Regions from separate parts of the Homo sapiens genome. Here region 1 is linked to region 2. The links are contacts of gene promoters, found by promoter capture Hi-C in blood cells and fetal thymus (Javierre and others, 2016). All regions are on one chromosome and are shown on one strand. Each heading gives the region's core, a stretch centred on a gene start or on the middle of the fragment in contact. The rest is flanking DNA. Distances are from core to core; before and after follow the strand shown. Region 1 has its middle 52 kb from the start of C14orf132. Region 2 holds the start of TCL1B (TCL1 family AKT coactivator B).

Region 1 (3,052 bases), core at 322-2,821, 300 kb before region 2:
GAGTGCAGACAAAGCATGAAGGAATGAAACAACCTAGTCCCATGGGGGACCTCAAACCTGAATATAACTTAATGTAGGATTGGGGAGTATAGAGGAAAGTCCAGTGAGTGTGTCCTCTAGCATAATACTATTTATAAATGCAGTTGTATATTATTTATATATAAATACATAGTATTTCAGTAAATTAAAGAATATAAAATAATGTAAGTTCCCCCCAAACCTAGCCCACACAGTTTACTGAAGGGCTAGAGTGAGAAAGAGGAGAGAGAGCTATCAGTGAGTCTTCCAGCTCCTCCCTCACGCTCAGAAATAAAAGCAGAAAAAATAAGTGCAATCAAACTTGTAGACTGGTTCAGAAGAGGTTCTAGAAGTCCAGGGACCAGGAGCATCAGAATTTTATTAAAATTTGGAAACTTCATAACTACCTAAACATGCTATTTTGTTATTCAATATCTGTTCCTACTCAGTGACTTGAAGAAAAGTAGCACATAGTCAGAATATTGGTCAGGACAGGCTAGGGTCTGCTGCAGAAACTAACTAACCCAGGAATCTCTATGACTTCATGGAATAAAGGTTTATGTTTTTCCTTGTGTAAAGTTCAATGTGCTCAGGGGGGTCTCTTCTACTTTTTAGTATGTCACTTGATATATACTGCCTCTGCAAGAGAGAAAGACACATGCCACTTGCATTCACAGGCCATAATTATTCACAGTCTCAATCCAGCTGCAAGGGAGGCTGAGAAGTGCAAAGAAGCACATGGAATACTTGGTGTATGCCATCTCTGCTGAGCGTGCCCTTCTCATCACTGTCTTCTCATTTCTTTCTGCCCCCACATAGAGCTCACTCAACCCCTCCTCTAAAATCTCCCCCAGTCACCACATCCAGTTCAAACTCAGATCTCTGGGTGATGTCTGGCCTTCTTCCCAGCAAGTTCGCATGTGGCTCCTTTTGGTCCAAGGATACCAAAACTGGAAAAAAAAAAAAAGTCACCTGCCAACCCTGCTTCCAATATATAATGATGAAACTGAGATAATATGGCCTCAATAGGCACCTCCCACTTGGAAAAGGGAAGGATGGGAAGTACATAGAGTCACTGTCCATAGCAATTCTGAAATCCCACTGGGCAGACGTCATGAAAGCCCATATCCTCGGCATCCATGATTAGGCTCTAGTTTTGCTCTCTGAGAGATGCTGCTTTGTTCACTTTTCTCCATGAGCCTGGTTCTACCCATGAGGTTATTTCTTTTTTTGTAAGCTTCCTTGGTAGCACATGAATCAGGCATTGAGAAATAAGCCCTCCTTATGGACTGCTGTTCTAAAAGTTTGGTACAAGCCTTAAGGCTTGAAGACTGAAGGTCTTATTCAGTCTGTCTGTATGGTTCTTTGGTAACATGACCCTCAAAAATGTAGCACAAGTATAAACTTCATTTTATTGCACTTCACTTTTTTGCACTTCACAGATATTCCATCTATTACAAATTAAAGGGTTATAGCAACTCTGTGTTCAGCAAGTCTTATTTTTCTAACAGCATGTGCTCACTTTGTGTCTCTGTTTCACATTTTGGTAATCTCAAAATACTTCAGACTTTTTCATTATTATATCTGTTATGGTGATCTGTGATCAATGATCTCTGATGTCACTACTGCAATTGTCTTGGGGTGCCATAAACAGTGAACTTAGTTGATAAATGCATGTGTTCTGACTGCTTCATTGATTAGCTGATCTATCATCTCTCCCCCTCTCCTCAAGCCTCCCTATTTCCTGAGACATAACAATATTGCCATTAGGCCAGTTAATAACCCTACAATGGGCCTTGAAGCATTCAGGTGAAAAGAAAAGTCACACGTCTGTCACTTTAAATTAAAAGCTAGAAATGATTAAGCTTAGTGAGGAAGGCATGTCAAAAAAAGTGAGACAGACCAAAAGCTAGGCCTCTTGGGCCAGTTAGCCAAGTTGTGAATGTAAAGGAAAAATTCTTGAAGGAAATTAAAAGTGCTGCTCCAGTAAACACACAAAAGATAAGAAGGCTAAGCAGCCTTATTGCTGATATGGAGAAAGTTTTAGTGATAAGAATAGAAGATCAAGTCAGCCACATTTTCTTAAGCCAAAGCCTAACCCAGAACAAGGCCCCAACTCTCTTCAGTTCTGTGAAGGTTGAGAGAAGTGAAGAAGCTGCAGAAGAAAAGCTGGAAGCTAGCAAAGGTTGGTTCATGAGGTTTAAGGAAAGAAGCTGTCTCCATAACATGTAAGAGCAAGGGAAAGCAGCAAGTGCTGATGTAGAAGTTGCAGCAAGTTATCCAGAAGACCACTGATGAAGGTGGCTTCAGTGTAGATGAAACAGCCTTCTACTAGAAGAAAAGGCCATCTAGGACTTCCATAGCTGAAGAGGAGAAATTAATGAAATTGATTACTGAATAAATTACTGAGTATCTTAAGTCCCCTGTTGAGACTTACTGCTCATAAGAAAAGATTCCTTTCAAAATATTACTGCTCATTGACAACGAGCCTAGTCACCCAAGAGCTCTGATGGAGCTGTACAAGGAGACGAATATTGTTTCGATGCTTGCTAGCACAACATCCATTCTGCAGCCCAAGGATCAAGAGGTAATTTTGACTTTCAAGTCTTATTATTTAAGAAATACATTTTATAAGGCTATAGCTGCCATAGATAGTGAATCCTCTGATGGATCTGGACAAAGTAAATTGAATACTTTCTGGAAAACACTCACCATTCTAAATGTCATTAAGAACATTCCTTATCCATAGGAGGAAGTCAAAATATCAATATGAACAGGAATTTGAAAGACATTGATTTCAACCCTCATGAATGACTTCCAGGGGTTCAAGACTTTGCAGAGGAAGTAACTACTGATGTAGTGGAAACAGCAAGAGAACTAGAATTAGAAGGGAAACTTGAAGATATCAGTGAATTGCTAAAATCTCTTGAGATGAAGTCAACTCCCAGTGAAGATGCTTTGAATATTATTGAAATGACAGCAAAGGATTTAGAATATTACATACAATGAGTTGATAAAGCAGTGATAGGGTTTG
Region 2 (3,043 bases), core at 420-2,919:
GAGCCTGGGAGGTGGAGGTTGCAGTGAGCCAACATCACACCAGTGCACTCCAGCCGCAACAGAGCAAGACTTTCTCAAAAAACAAACAAACAGGCAGTGAATTGTTTACGAAGACCTAAACGGCATTTTTTTTTTTTTTTTTTGGGACGGAGTCTCACTCTGTCACCCAGGCTGGAGTGCAGTGGTGCGATCTCGGCTCACTACAAGCTTCGCCTCCCGGGTTCACGCCATTCTCCTGCCTCAGCCTCCCGAGTAGCTGGGACTACAGGCGTCCACCACCACGCCCGGCTAATTTTTTGTATTTTTAGTAGAGACGGGGTTTCCCCATGTTGGCTAGGATGGTCTCGATCTCCTGATCTCGTGATAAGCCCATCTCGGCCTCCCAAAGTGCTGGGATTACAGGCGTGAGCCACCGCGCCCAGCCCTAAATGGCATTTTAAATATCCGGATATGCTTTTACCACATTACACTAAGGTACAGCCAGCCCCCCATTTCCATGGATACTGCACCCATGAATTCGACTAACCTCAGATTAAAAATATTTTGGGAAAAAAAGAAATTCCACAAAGTTCCCAAAAGCAGAGCTTGAAGTGATGTGTAGGTGTAGCATTAGGTGTTATTAGTAATCTGATTTCAAATATAGTAGAGGATGCGCTGAGGTTATATGTAATTACTACCCAGGTCATTTTCTATCAGGGACTTGAGCATCCACAGTCGGTCCTGGAATCAATTCCCCACCGCCACCCACACCAGAAACGCTACTGTATTTACTTCATCCCTCAAAGACTGGCTGTGATCTAAAGCCCTCATCTACAGCCGTTTCCTGAGTCATTATCATTATCACCTGGGGAGCTTTTGAAAAGTAAAGAATCTAGGACTCCACCCAAGCCTCCTGAATTAATTTCCAGAATCTGTTATCAGTCAAATGCTTCCCCAGGCCATTCAGGCGGTGAGCCATGTATGTGAGCATGTCTGTGACTAGCTTGCCACAGAGGTATATTATTCTCATTTTGCAGATCAGTAATCTGACACCAATGTCATGTTCATCCTGTTGGCCCACCTGGTGCCTCCAGGCTGCAATGCTTTTGCTTATACTACTCCTGCCTCCTTTCTAGACCTGGAGAACTCCTACTCATCCCACAAAGCCCAGCTCAATAGCTGCCCCATTTGTGGGCCTTCCCAGCAGGCACTGGGAATGGCACTAAGCCCTGAGCTACCTTAGCCTCGGCTTCACCACGCAGGACCACATTATCTCATGTGGATAAGCTTGTGCCTGTGGTCCCTTTACGGGGGGTGTTCCTGGGGCCAGGGCTGGGCATGGACATTGCTGCGCTCCTAGACCTGCACAGAAGTGAGTTTTCCAGTGCGGGTGAGAACGGCCCCCTCTGACCCCCACCGCGGTCCCACACGGGCAGGGGTCAGTGCGCAGCCCTCCCCACAGCCTCCCCTCGTGCCCAGGACTCACTCTGCTGCCCTGGGAGGCCCTGGCCCATTCCCTACGCGAGGGATTGAACCGCACGACCACAGTCACCCAGGTTCTCCCCTCCTCATCTTCGTAGATGCCAGGCCTCTGGATCCACAGACGGCCAGGGGGCACCCCTAGACGCACAGAAGCTTCGGAGGCCATGGCAAGTCTGCAACCGGGACCCGCCTCTAGGCTCACACGTGTAGCTTTCCAGCTGCGCAATCTCCTTAAATGGAGCAGCTCCGGCGTGGGTGGGGCCCGGGCCGGCAGTGGGGGCGGGGCCGGCAGTGGGGGCGGGGCCAGTCGGGGGAGGAGGGGGAGGAGGAGGAAGGGGGAGGAGGGAGGAGGGAGGAGGGAGGAGGAGGAGGGGGGAAAAAAGCAACCTGCAGCAGGGGCTAGGCAGGGACGAGGCCAAAGAGCAGCGGAGTTAGGAACCCGGCCTGGGTCTCCTGGAGGGGCTGTGGCTGGACCGGCAGCTGCTGGAGGCAAAAGGGCGGCTCCCGGGGATAGAGCTGCCCAGGCTTCACCCCAGGCCTCTGCAAGGAATTTGGCTCCTAAGACCTATTCCACCTCCCTTCCACTGGTCCCAGTCCCTCCGCAGCCTCCTCCCTGAGCACCCCTGCCCAATTTTCTGTCAGGTGATTCCCCTCCTTTGCTCCCCACGACCCCCTGCCAACCATCCTGCCCCAGATCCTGAGCTGGCATGCACGACCCTGGTCTCTCCTATCCCTGTGGCCATTCCTTTAACAGGACTCTGTGTCAGGGACCCTTCTCTGAGCTTAGAGCTTAGAGGCATGGGGGGCGGGGGGCGCTGTAACCTCAGTGGACTCTTGCCCCTGGAGGTATCTGGTGAAGGCGCATCCTGCACAAATCAAGCTCCCTCTCCTTAGAAAATAAGCCAGTGCACTATCAGCATCTGAGCTCAGGATCAGATAAAGCCCACAGAAACAAGGCCACCGGAGGCCACGTGGCCACCTGGCCAGCCCATCCTTGGCCATGGGGCCCAGAGTGCCCACTTGGCCTGGTCGTCTTACTTGCTCGACTTTGTCAAGAGGCCTCAGAAGCTCAAGAACATAGCAAGAAGCAGGTCCGTTCTATAAGCACCCTGGGCTGCTTCTAAATGCACCATGAATAGGAACCTTTTCCTTTTGAAAACCACAAGCATGATTCTTCTAGTTCAAGTGAAGATTAGTATTGAGATGATGCCATTCTGCTGGGGAGATGTGAAAATGATTTCTGGACAGTCCTGATCCAGTGTAAATGGCAGGTAGGATAACCACTTTTGAAGAACTCCCTGGGCAGCTTCTGTGGAGGACTGAGTCTTGTTTTCACAGCAATTCCACCTCCATCCCCAGTGTTTTTCCAAGGAACCAACACTTGGGGTGGGAATGGAGTGGGCCAGGAAGACAAGGGACATCACAGTCTCATATAATGTGATCCATACATGGAATCACGTACGTGTGTCACCTTTGCCATATTCCATTGGTCAGGGGTAGGTCCTATCCTTACTCAAGGTTATGAATACCAGGAGGCAGGGATCATGGGGACCCCTGGTCTCCTGGGCCCCCCTGAAGCCTG

Evidence for each region. The method cuts DNA at HindIII sites, captures the fragments that hold promoters and counts their contacts. A CHiCAGO score of 5 or more calls a contact.
Region 1: a contact is called between a fragment that was not itself captured here and the fragment with the promoter of TCL1B in region 2, in 1 of 17 cell types (naive B cells). The highest score is 6.8, in naive B cells.

Annotation. Positions count from the first base shown.
Region 1 is chr14:95,985,383-95,988,434 of GRCh38, reverse strand. No RefSeq gene overlaps it. Among named protein-coding and RNA genes, the nearest start is that of C14orf132, 52 kb to the left of the region's middle. The HindIII fragment of the contact is 628 bases long and covers 1,258-1,885 here.
Region 2 is chr14:95,685,052-95,688,094 of GRCh38, reverse strand. TCL1B (TCL1 family AKT coactivator B) reads right to left here and starts at 1,669. Exons shown (of 4, transcript NM_004918.4): 1 at 1,466-1,669. The coding sequence starts at 1,627. The HindIII fragment of the contact is 10,915 bases long and covers 1,617-3,043 here.